Regions from separate parts of the Homo sapiens genome. Here region 1 is linked to region 2. The links are contacts of gene promoters, found by promoter capture Hi-C in blood cells and fetal thymus (Javierre and others, 2016). All regions are on one chromosome and are shown on one strand. Each heading gives the region's core, a stretch centred on a gene start or on the middle of the fragment in contact. The rest is flanking DNA. Distances are from core to core; before and after follow the strand shown.

Region 1 (6,699 bases), core at 3,889-6,388, 110 kb before region 2:
TGACTGACAGGCTGAATGAATGGAAAAAAATATACCAAGACAGTCATAACCACAAATTGCTTCCCCATTAATCTTTAGAAGCAGGAAGCTGAACAATGTTCTTGGTGGTAGAATTCACCACTCCTTATATTAGTGAAGATACAAGTAAGGTGACAGACACCTCGAAATACAGTGACTACAAAGGCTCAAATAAGATAGAAGTCTATGCCTTGCCTATGAAATTGGTCAGAAGTCGACTGGCAGTACAAGGTGGGAAGGCCATTTGGTTTAATGAGGTTGTCCACATCATCAAAACTGCTCACTCACCAGCACCATGTCCACAATGCAGTCCACAGAACAGAAGAAAAGTGGAGGACAAGCCATTTACTGATAATAGTGTGATCTGTAAGTTGCACACATCACTGCTGCTCACATCCCATTGGCTCAGACTTAGCCACATGATCACACCTTGCTGCAAGCGAGGCTGGGAAATGAAGTCTTTACTTGGGCAGCCATAAGCCCAGCTTAATCTCAAGACTAAATCTATTAATACAAAGAAGGAAGGGAGAATCGGTGGTAGTTCCTGCCACCCTCATGCCTGTGTAACTCTTCTTTTCAAATACACTTTCTTGTCTATTATCTCAATCCCACAGGTTGAACGTGGGCTGGTCTTTGGAAACACATATTCACGTAATAGCTTTGACTCATTTTGCAAGCTTAAATCAAAGTATCTGTTGCTTTTTCCCTATTAGTTGCCTGAGCACCCATTTGCGTATATTAGCAGGGAGGTCTGGCATCTCTTTTTTGAGATGGAGTCTCGCTCTGTGCCCAGGCTGGAGGGCAGTGGCACGATCTTGGCTCATTGCAACCTCCGCCTCCCAGGTTCAAGCAATTGGCCTGCCTCAGCCTCCCTAGTAGCTGGGATTTTGGTGTGCACCACCATGCCTGGCTAATTTTTCTATTTTTAGTAGAGACGGGGTTTCACCATATTGGCAGGCTGGTCTCAGATTCCTGACCTCAAGTGATCTGCCCACCTTGGCCTCCCAAAGTGCTGGAATTACAGGCGTGAGACACAGCACCAGGCCTGGCATCTTTTTTTTGAGGCTTTCCTCTCACTTTTCCCCACCCCATTGCCAACACCATTGCCCAAGGACCCCTAGAGGCTGACCATCCAAAGAGCCCAGTCTGCCCCAGCCACCAGGCCTAGAGAAGAGGCTGGGATTTGGGATTGTTCTTGTTGCTTCTGTTGCCACCATGCTGTGTCTTGGTTAAAAACTAGTCCTGCCCCATATGTTGCAGCTTTGTCCCTTCTACAGTGATGACCTCATTGGCCTGATTCCCCAGGAGCCTCCTGAGCAGGAACTCCAAGTTCACCCTTCTATGCTCAGCCTCAGCAGAAGTTGTGTGTGTCTGAGTGTCCAGGGCATTATTATACTTGTTCTTGTACTTGGCCAGGAGCAGCCTTTCCCCACAATCCTCTAGGCCTTGTTGCCCTCCTTTTCTTTCACGATAATGATGTCCTGAGTAGGGTCTCTTCCAATCCACAAGGGAGGTCCTAATGACAGTGATATTCAGAGGGGAAGCAGTTGGGGGTCTTAATTCTGCCTCCCCAGGAACTTCCTTGTCCCCCAGGCAGCCATCTCTGCATACAGAGGGTGCTGGGTGAAACAGATCTTGCTTGGCTGCCAAGGCTCCTACTATACATTGGCCCTGTGGCAATAGGGGCCCCTTTTTTTGTTTTTGCACAATTCAGAGTGGCCAGTAAGGTTCAGGGGGAGAAGACAACCAAGATCTAATCCAAGGTGACTCTCAATATCCACAGAGATGGAAAAGTTATTGGCAGCTTTTCTCTCTAAATGTACTTACCCCTCATCGAGCCCCCAGTCACATATGGGAAGGAGGCAGAGGCTCAAAGGTATGAACTGGCCAAGGTCACAGAGCCAGCCACCAGACAGACCGTGGTGTCATGCCTCCTGGCTCTGACCACCCTGATTCTGATGTGTCTATGCTTGGGCCCCACGTCTCACCCAGAAGGCTGACTTGTGTCACTTCAAGCACTTTCTTCTGATTAACACCTCTTTGTTTCCAAAGTCATTGCCATTATTTACTTTGAAAGGTTCTTCTCTCTTTAGCCTGCCCTTTGGAGGGACTGATAATGCTGCCCAGGCGTGGCTTCATTTATTGTCTGTGAGTGTTCATCCAAGAATTACCTGGTACCTTGATTCATTCATCATGGGGTGTCCTTCCACTCACATTTCATTGGCCAAAGCAGATTACATGATAGCATCTAACTTCAAAGAAGGCAAGAAAATACAACCTTACTATGGGGATGAGAGGAGGAAAAACTGATTATCTATGCACCACTGTAATGACTATCACAGCTTTTATGAGAGGATTCCTATGTGCTTTGTGGAAACCAATGCATTTCACCTAAAATTCTTCAAATCTATATCTATAGTAAATCTCTAACAGATCAGCTTGTTGACTCTGCGAGAAAAGAAAATGAGATTAATTTGACATGATATATTCTTAGAAAATATATTGGCTTCCAATGATTTGTATTTTTTCTTTTAACTTAAAAATATTCCAATTTAAATTCTTCTTATTTCTAATTTATATTCTATGTAGTCACAACCTAATGTTTAATGAACCATTCTAGAATTTTCCCAGGGAGAGACAGAAATCTACAAGTTTATGGTTTCTTAACGCATGTGTAATTAATTGCTGCAAAAAATTAATTGCATTATATTCACTGTTAAAATGTTGTAAAGGCCTTTGTTATGGAGGACTCTGTTGCTATGGTCAAAGCAATTGCAACTCAAGATTGAATGAGCAAAAGTATTATGAATCCTCAAAGCTCTGTGTGTGTATGTGTGTGTGTGTGTGTGTGTGTGTAGCCAAAGATAGTTGAAACCAACTGATGCTTAACCTCAAAAGCAGCAAAGACTTGGACTTTCTATATGGGCAAAAGGAGGCCTGGGGTCCCACAGCATTCACAAGGCCAGGTCAGGACTCCCCATCTGAAGATAGGCAGATTGTGCTGTGAAGGCACCTCCTGGGTGAAGTTCTTCCTGATACTTGCTTAAGGTCCCCTGTCTTACCCTTTGATCCAAGCACTCAGATGACACAACCTGGGGCCCCAGATTTTTCTGTCAAGAGAGAGTGACCGGCACCATCACATGATGAAGCCAGAGGACAAAACCAGGTAATGGAGAGGCCTGAAGAGAAGGTGACACTGCCTGGAGCCACAGGGTCTCCCCTTAGCTCCTTTGGGATGAAGTTGGCTATGCATCTGTGCAGTGAGGTGCACAGAGGGTCCTCTGTGTGTCCCTGAATGATATCCAAACAGGACAGTGCAGAGGCTGCAACTGGTGTATGAATATGGTTCTCTTTCCATCAGCTCTTCCTCCTTAATCTCTGAGCACTCCCACTTCAGAATGGCAGGGGTTAACCGTGAGGAGTCACCTCCATCTGAGTGGGCAGGGAAGGCCTTAGCTGGGATGTGGGATTTGGACGGCATGTTGAAGAACAGATGGAGAGAGTGGGAGCAGGGGTTGGAAGGTCAGTGAGGAAGATCTGATTTGTCAGGTGTGGGAAGTTCCTGAAATAGGAGGTAGACCAGAAAGTTGAGGACTGCTGCAGAAGCCTTGAATGTCAGGCTGAAGTGTTCAGACACTTCAGCAGGAAGCCATAAAATGCTTTGATCTGGGTCTTGACATGTATAGACCTGGGTCAAACCAAGACAAACTTGACAGAGGGCTGTGGAACAGACAGGGAAAAAGAGACCAGAGACAGGGTCACAGGCTATTGTAGTAGTCAAAGCCAAAAGCAAGATATCCATGAGCCAAACTGCCAAAGGAAAGGAAAAGACAGGGATTCCGGTGACTAATCCTATGAATTTGAGAGTGAAAAATACCTAGAAGTTGACAATTTAAAAATATTTTCTGTCCACACCCTGTATGATGCTGAAATTTTAGGCATCTGTGTGCCCAGAAAAAGAGAGAGCCCTGACCAAATTGATAGCGTATTTCTGCCTCTTCCCAGTGGTCACATTCTCCCGGGAAAATGAAGTTTTTTACAAAAGAAGTAACTCCACCCAGTGCACGTGCATTCTTTTTCACTCTAGCAGAATAACGGGTATCTGCTCAGTTCTATCTTATTGCTAATGTTTATCTCAAACCTAGAGCTCTTCATCCACTTCCTATGGGAGCCGGAGTGGGAGGTGGGGCAAAGAGACAAAGCTGACTTCCCCTTGATCTTATTGCATCAGTCAGAGTCCCAGCAGGAGAGAGATGGCAATTCAAAGTTACAGCTCAGTCACTGGAGAGAATACAGTGAGCAGACATGGGCAAGATGGAAAAAAATGAACAAGGATGGTGCAGCACCTCTGGGATAGTAACAGTGGGGAGCCATCACCACCCTAAGCGTGAAGGACCAAGGCGGGAACGTGGCATCAAGAATGCAGAGAGATAGCACTTTGGGAGGCCGAGGTGGGTGGGTTGAAGTCAGGAGTTTAAGACCAGCCTGGTCAACATGGCGAAATCCCATCTCTACTAAAAATACAAAAATTAGCTGGATGTGGTGGCACACGCCTGTAATCCCAGCTACTCGGGAGGCAGAGGCAGGATAATCACTTGAACCTGGGAGGCGGAGGTTGCACTGAACTGAGATAGTGCCATTGCATTCCAGCCTGGGCAACAGAGTGAGACTTCGTCTCAAAAAAAAAAAACAAAAAACAAAAAACAAACAAGCAAAAAAACCAATAACAACAAAAGAACGCAGACAGAGCTATAGCCAAAGGAGGGGCTTGCTGGAAAGTGTGCCATGGCCTTCAGTAGAGGAACCAGACACTTCACCACCAAGCCACCCCCCATGGCAAAGAGGGAGAACAGTAAGTGCCAGGATGGCTCTTTCCTCCTGCCCTCCTATTCCCTGCTGCTGGCCACGATGGGCTGAACTCAACCAGAACCCAGAAGGTGCGGGAGCTCAGTTGACGTGGTTCCTACAGGCCAGTCCCAGGATCAGGGCAAGGTGGAGAAGAAAGGAGAGCGAGTGGGTCTGGAGGGACAAACGAAATCTTCAGCATGCTAATATTGATGTGCAAAACCAAGCAGCACAACAGAAACCTGCTGTCTTTCACTGAGCTCTAACCATGGACCCAGCGTGAGGAAATGATGTCAGGCCAAGGCTGGGGCTCTGAGTAAATGGTTTGTACAGACAGGAGCCTACCACTGAGGCCCTGAGGGAAGCAAATACCCGAGAACAGGCAGAGACAGAGGGAGAGAAACTGCAAATCCCTTTCCTAATTCCTGATTCCAATTCTCTGAGAGGTTTTGCAGCCTGTTTCCATGAGAGTACCCTGATTTCAGAAAAAAAAAAAAATTTCCGTTTTACACAAGGCAGAAATAGAAACTTCCTCAAGTTTCTAGTATACCCAAAGTTTCAAGTTTCAAGTATACCCAACATTCTTTGGTTATAAGAAATAGAAACTTCCTCAAGTTTCATAGAAACTTATAACCAAAGAATTTTGGGTGTACTTCATCTAAAACAAGAACCTCAAACATGCTTAATTTCATCTAACCCATAACCCTGTCTCCTTCCCCATGTTAAAGAAGAGGGGATTCAGGATCTGAGTAAGATAAGGTGAACCTTATCCTGGGAGGCGGGACTCACACTCGGGTCTACCCGACTGCAGCACTGTGGAATTTTCTAGGACTCCACAGGCAGGCAAAGCTGGCCAAAAGCAACTTCCAAAGCCAGGAGGGAACTCCACCCCCAACCAAAACCACTCAGTGAGGAAACTGGTGTCTCCATCTGTTTTTGAGCGAAAACACCCTGGAGTTCTGAGGAGCTCGCAGGCGCGGCCACCCAGCACCTAAGTGTGGGACAGGGAGCAAGAAAGGGACTGACCTTGGACCTGTGAAACCGCAACCCAGTTTCCCCAAGGGCTCCTAGGAAAGCAGTGTATTTGAAAGTGCTGTCATTCCTTTGCTAAATGCCAAGGATGGAGTGGGCTGTGCATGGGTGCGCCTCTTCCCCACACAGCCACTGCTCCCAGCCCCAGTGAGAGCCTGAGCTCTTGGAGTGAGGAGGGACCCCTGGCCCCCCTTGGTGGGCTCTCCGGCCTCCCTCTCTCGTCCCCACCCCCAGGCCCACACCCTGTCGGCCTCCCACCTCAGAGTGGAAGGTGAGGTGAGGTAATGTCTCCGCTAACCCGCAGTGGCAAGGAGATGAAAAGAATCTCAGAAATGCTATGTTTAATTTAAAGCAGACCCAGCCTGCCTTAGCCAGGCTGTAATTTCACTCAGAATAACCAGATTGTTTTTCTTGGACATTCCAGGCCACCCCCTGTTAAAGCCCAAATGGAATGTTAGGGGGCCCCTTACTGGGGGCCACATGGCTGTCCGAAACTCATTCTCCCTTGGGCCAAGGACTCCTGCTTTGGGGAAGGTCAGGACCTCTCTGAGCGTCACTTAAGGGCCTCCCCTTGGCTCCCTGGCACTCCTCCCCACCCGGCACCCCACCCCTAACTTGGTGCCCAGAGTTCTAAGGGTAAAAGGTCGTCATAGATGAGAACAGCAACACCATCTGTTCACTCTGTGTTCTCTGTGCCCAGTGTTGTGTGAAACTTTCTATCCAATATCTTGCAAAATCCTTACAGCAACCCTATAAGGTGGGTAGAATTTTTTGTGATTCTCCTTCTACAGAGGGTGATAGGGA
Region 2 (6,162 bases), core at 1,532-4,031:
AATAACTTCTTTTTTTTAGACAGAGTTTCGCTCTGTCACCCAGGCTAGAGTGCACTAGCGTGATCTCGGCTCACTGCAACCTCTGCCTCCTGGGTTCAAGCAATTTTCCTGCCTCAGCCTCCTGAGTAGCTGGGATTACAGGCACATGCCACCATGCCCAGCTAATTTTTTGTACTTTTAGCAGAGACAGGGTTTCACCATGTTGTCCAGGCTGGTCTCAAACTCCTGACCTCAAGTAATCTGCCCACCTCGGCTTCCCAAAGTGCTGGGATCACAGGTGCGAGCCACCATGCCCAGCCAAAAAATAACTGGTTTTGGCTGCATGCAGTGGCTCACATCTGTGATCCCAGCACTTTGGGAGGCCCAGGCAGGAGGAACACTTGAGCCTAGGAGTTTGAGGCCAGCCTGGGCAACAGAGGGAGACTGCTGTCTCTACAAAAAATTAGAAATTAGCCTGGCATGGTGTTGGGTACCTGTAGTTCCAGCTACTTGGGAGGCTGAGGTAGGAGGATTGCTTGAGCCCAGGAGGTGGAGGTTGCAGTGAGCCAAGATCGTGCCACTGCACTCCAGCTTGGATGACAGAGTGAATCTGTCTCTAAAAAAGAAAAAAAAAAAAACGCTGCTGTCCTGGATTTGTAAGTAGCCTGAGTGACTCTTTGCTAGTCACTATTCAGAAGCTTCTCTGAGATCAGCCACTGACTTGGAGAGATAACAGTAAGGCTTTGAGATCTAGAGGCTGATCTTAGTCTGCTGTTTGGAGATCTCTGCCTTAATCCAGAATAATAGCTGAGGATGTCTCTGTGGCTGATGAAGAAAAGGAAGTTTGCAGGCCTGCTTGTCTTGCTGCCCAAGTGGGTCAACCTAATGTGAGTGGAGTGAATGAGGTAGTAAGGGCTTAACAGATGTCTTGTGATTCTGGGACAGGAGGCAGCTTCAAGTTCCTTTTCTTCCTCACCCCCACCTTACACCCATCCTTGGAAGCTGGGATACTGCTGACTCTCATGGCAGCCATAACGCTATCAGCGCCTGGCTTTGCCGACAAGGGGAATCTGGAAGAGAAGGGGAAGGACAGGGGAGACAAAGAGAGGTAAAGAGTGTTGCATCAAGCACATGTGTCAGAAGTGTTCAAACCAGAGCGCCTCCATTTTGAGTGAGGGCTAGAAAAATGAGGCTGGGACTTGCTAGGCTGCATTTCCTGAAAGCTAGGCATTCCTAGCCTCTAGGTGTTTATGGTTAAGAGAACAAATTAATAATGCTTACTAAACAGACCCAGACTTGAGAGAGTCCAGATATCCCGATATCTGGAGAACAAAGGCATTCCTAATTTTGCTTTAAAAATAATAATATTGATTATTGCAAAATATAGTAATTAGGGAAAATTAATCCTTTATCACAAACCCTTGTAGCAGAAGACATCTGCCCATATATACAAGCATTACAAGCATTGTACCTTAGTTGGATATGTCCCTCCTCTTATTTTCAGGAATGCCCTGCTGGAGTGCAGTGGCGATCTCGGCTCACTGTAGCCTCTGCCTCCCGGGTTCAAGCGATTCTCCTGCCTCAGCCCCGTGAGTAGCTGAGACAACAGGCTTGCGCCACCACGCCCGGCCAATATTTGTATTTCTAGTAGAGACGGGGTTTTGCCATGTTGGCCAGCTGGTCTTGAACTCCTGACATCAGGTGATCTGTCCGTCTCAGCCTCCCAAAGTGCTGGGATTACGCGTGAGCCACTGTGCCCAGCCACCACTTTACTTTCTTAATAAACTTGCTTTTACTTTGCACTGTGGACTTACTCTGAATTGTTTCTTGCGTGAGATCGAAGAACCCTCTCTTGGGGTCTAGATCGGGACCCCTTTCCTGTAACACATGGGCCTTGGGCTGATCTCCAAGATTAAGAGGGCAAGATACTCAGCTGCAAGGGTCAGCTGTCGCTGACCCCAGCAGCTGCTCTGCCTTGGCCAACTTACCGGATTTAAATCGCCCAGTGACAGCTTTTCCTCCAGTATTTTCAAAATGCTCCCAATATCCTCACGTTAGAACAATCCAGAAATAGTCTTATGGTAAAACTCTTTTGGGAAATGTGAAAGTAGAGTCCTCCCACCTTTTCCTTTGCAACGCTTTTGCCCCAACCTCGATCGCCCAGGCAGCACATTTTTTCCGGCACCCCCACCAAGGGAAGAACAGAGACATCTCCAAACCAGCTGCCCTGCGCCAAGCTGTTACAAAATAGAGCCACAAGTCTCCCGGTTTATGCAAACATATTTGGCTCGGTGTCTAGGATCTTCTTTTTCAAACTCAGAAGGAGATCACAGGCACACGGCCGCGGTGCTGTGTACGCCCCTCTGAAAGGAAGTTCTGCAAGTCGACCGACTTCACTGGCTTCACTGAAGTCCGGTCCGAAACCACCGGAAAGTTGCAGGCGCACAGTATACGTTCAGCTGTGTCCAAGAAATAACCTATCAATCACTGCCTTAAGCTTTGTTTCCTTCCTGAATTTTCTTATTTTCACGAATATTTATGCTTTCACAAACTGTATGTCATTTCCTCTCCAGAACCAAGGGGGGCTCGCCCCAGCCTGGCCCCCGCCCCGGGTGCGTCCCTGCAGGGGGCGCCCTGCTCTGGCAATGCCCACCGCACCGCAGGGCTGACTGGCCGCGCGCCCGGGGGCGGGGGCCGCCGCGGAGGCATCGTGCTCTCCGATTGGCCGTCCGCGTCCTCGTGACGTCAGACCCCGCCCACGCGCCCCTCCTCCGCATCTGAGCGGGGGAGCGGCGGCCCCCAGCTGAATGGGCGCGAGAGCGGCGCTGGGGGCGGGTGGGGGCGCGGGGTACCGGGCTGGCGGCCGGCCGGCGCCCCCTCATTAGTATGCGGACGAAGGCGGCGGGCTGCGCGGAGCGGCGTCCCCTGCAGCCGCGGACCGAGGCAGCGGCGGCACCTGCCGGCCGAGGTACGTGGCGCAGCCCCCTCCTCGGCGTCGCGGGGGCCCGCGGGCTGGGGGCTGCGGCGGCGACTTGTCTCTTCCCGGGCCGGCTGGGCGCGGCGTTTCCGCCTCGAACCCCGCGGGCAGCGCCCAGGGCACGACACCCTCAGGCGAGCCCGGCTGGGGCGCGGGCGGAGGGTCGTGGTCCCGGGCCGTGTGGACCGGGCGGGGGGTCCCACGCAGGTGTGTACGCGGTAGAGGGTGGGGCGGACCGCCGGGTGTCGGGTCCCGCCGCAGTGGCCCTTTCCCCGCCGCTTTCCGCTGCAGCTCGGGATTTAATTCATTGCTGGAAGCTTCGGAGTTAGCAGAGCCGAGTTAACTCGTTTTCCTGGGATGGGCTTAGGGAACCCCCTGCAAGGTTACTAGCAGCTCCTGAAACCTCTCTCTGCATCCATCGGGGAGGCGTGATGTGGGGCCGCTGGTAGAAATTTGCCGGTGACCTTCCCTGCACCCTCTCTGCAGCCAGCCTTGCGGAGAAGACAGGTTTTGGCGACCTTTTGATTTCTTCTGAATTGTAAGCCGTGGCTTGACGCGGGTGTGCATTCATTGTACGCCTTGCGTGTGTAAGTAACGCAGGGTTTTCCGAGAGCATCCCCGAGGAGCCCTGCCCTTGCCTCACACCCGCTTGGTGACCTTGGCAGACACTGATCCCCCTGTGGGGCTCGGGCTCATGGTCTCTCCTGAGAAGCTTACCCTGCCGATGGCCGAGGTCCCTTCCAGGCCCCGGGTTTTTCTAATCATAAAAAAATACGTTTACGAGGGTAGAGGATCCTGCAGAATCTCTAGCTGACTCGGAAGACGAATTTTATATCCTCATGTCTTAAGTCATGCATGCGGCTTTTGCTTAATTAGGCATCGTTCATTTGAAGGGGAAAATGGTTTTATGTGCTGCGCTTCATCTGGCACCAGTGGTTGCCTGCTCCTCGTGGCAGGGCCGTGCTGGGTGTCACAGAGAGGAAGGAGACTCATCTCCTGCCCTCTGGTGTTTAGCTGCCCTCCCCCGGGCTTATGGCTGCTAATCCTTTTCCACGGAAGGATACAGCTGCTGAAACTGTGGAAGAGGAATCCATTTCTGCTGCATGAAGGGGCACAGACTTGAATACAGTCAGGACAGGTTGTGGTTTCACTTGTGTAATCCTGAGAGCTTGACAGCTTCGAGGAGTGTCTAACATTGCTAGTAACAGAGCCTAGAAGCACCTGAATTCCAGCTGTCACTTGGAGAAGGAGAGATTCATACGAACTGCGAGAGCATATAACCAGCATGTCTTGAGTCTTTTACCCATGTGCCTGTTATATGGATGCTGCTGTTTTTGTAAGATGAAATGACCCTTGGATATTCTGGGTTATGATCAGCATTTCTTCGTCTAGGCGAGAAAAGAAACAGGTGAGATAGGAAGGCATGAAGGGGCTCATGGAAGAGAGAGGGCTGACAGGCAGAAATTTTGAGAGCTCACATTTACGACTATTTGGACAGTTCTTATAATTTTGGCATAAATTGTAAATTGTTGCATGTTATCAAAATAGATTGGTGATGAACGTTAAGGATATATCCGTGGCAGAATAAGAACACACTCTTTGTTCTTTGGTTTGCTCCTCTAGTTCTTCCCTGCTTGCCTTGTGGGACTATTTGCAGCAATGAGGGGAATTTATCTAGCAGGTTGGCCTCGGGAGGCAATGAATGAAAAGAGGTTGGTGAGTCCTCTGTGGGAGTCCATTCCAGGTCCTGGAGGGCTGAGGTGGGTGTCTTGGAGCCAGCAGTTTCTGGGAGAAGGGATAAAGCTCACCTTCCACACCCTCCTGGCTCCTGAGGAGCGATTTAATCCGCACTGCCTGTGGACACGATGGAGGACTGAGATCACTCCCGAAGGGCATGCTCCGTGGTTTTAGTCTGCTGGGAAGCTCTGGCAGAAGTAAAACAACTGGGAATATACACATGTTAATGATGCTCCAAGCTGCCTAACTGCTGAGGAAGGAAAAGCAAGGGCTGGATCAGTGTGGGTGGCATAAGTTAGCAAAGGCATCCAAAGTGGGGTGAATCACAGGCCTGGTGTGGGAGGAAACCATAAATATGACGGTGACACGCAGGCTCGCCCGGGAGACAGCCAGCTTAAGCACACGTGCAGAGGAGAAGCAAGTGAAATGCGTAAGGGAGCAGGAGAAAAATCAGCTTTGAGGCTTCAAGGACACTACCAGGCTTGTCTTACCTGGACACCAGACAGACAAAACTTTTTTTTCCTCTTTTTTTTTTAAGTATAGCATAGATACTAGGAAAGTAGACATACCATAAGTGTCCTGCTCAATGAATTTTCCAGACTGAACATGCCCATGCACTCAGCACTTAGATCAACAAACAGAACTGGCCGGGACCCTGGGAGCTCCCCTTGTGTTGTACTCCAGTCGCGGCCTCCCCCAGGATCAGCCTTGAACTCCTGGAGTCAAGCAATCCTCCTGCCTTAGCCTCCTCAGTAGCTGAGACTACGGGCACACACCACCAGACCCAGCTAATTTGTTTTATTTTATTTTGTAGAGACGGCTCCCACTGTGTTGTCCAGGCTGGTCTCTGGCAACTCCTAGCCTCAAACTATTCTCCCACATTGCCCTCCCAAAGCGCTGAGATTACAGGCGTGAGCAATTGCGCCTGGCTGGCTAGTGTATGCCTTCTTTCCTTAAGCATTGAGTTTCTGAGAATCACTCATGATGCTGCCCATGGTTGAAGCATGTTCACTCTCATTGGTGATAGGGGCCATTGGGTGAATATACCACATAGTCACGCATTGTTAGTGGACATTTGGGCAGTTTGCAGCATTTGTCTGTTACAGAAAGTGCCGCTGTGACCACTCTAGTGTCTGGCTTTGGTACATATGTGTCTGCATTTCTGATAGGTCCATACCTAGGCATGGTATTGCTGTTTTAGGAGCCACAGGCACAGCTATTTTACTCCAGTTTTTTTTTTCTTTTTTTTTTTTTTGAGACAGAGTCTCGCCGTCGCCCAGGCTGGAGTGCAGTGGCACGATCTCAGTTCACTGCAGGCTCCGCCTCCGGGGTTCACGCCATTCTGCCTCAGCTTCCCGAGTAGCTGGGACTACAGGCGCCTGCCACCTCGCCCGGCTAATTTTTTGTATTTTTAGTAGAGACAGGGTTTCACTGTGTTAGCCAGGATGGTCTCGATTTCCTGACCTCGT

The links. Contacts are between HindIII fragments. The CHiCAGO score rates a contact against its expected background, and 5 or more counts as called.
Region 1: a contact is called between a fragment that was not itself captured here and the fragment with the promoter of ST3GAL5 in region 2, in 3 of 17 cell types (M0 macrophages, megakaryocytes and total B cells). The highest score is 8.8, in M0 macrophages.

Annotation. Positions count from the first base shown.
Region 1 is chr2:85,997,924-86,004,622 of GRCh38, reverse strand. LOC105374843 (a long non-coding RNA gene) reads left to right here and starts at 6,545. Exons shown (of 3, transcript XR_940318.3): 1 at 6,545-6,652. The HindIII fragment of the contact is 8,882 bases long and covers 698-6,699 here.
Region 2 is chr2:85,885,609-85,891,770 of GRCh38, reverse strand. ST3GAL5 (ST3 beta-galactoside alpha-2,3-sialyltransferase 5) reads left to right here and starts at 2,781. Exons shown (of 7, transcript NM_003896.4): 1 at 2,781-2,947. The coding sequence starts at 2,866. It overlaps ST3GAL5-AS1 (ST3GAL5 antisense RNA 1), which reads right to left and starts at 2,491. Exons shown (of 3, transcript NR_110569.1): 1 at 1,968-2,491; 2 at 566-595; 3 at 1-80. RefSeq lists silencers at 2,380-2,999, 3,040-3,159 and enhancers at 3,330-3,409, 3,101-3,601, 3,940-4,069, 4,080-4,199. The HindIII fragment of the contact is 797 bases long and covers 2,479-3,275 here.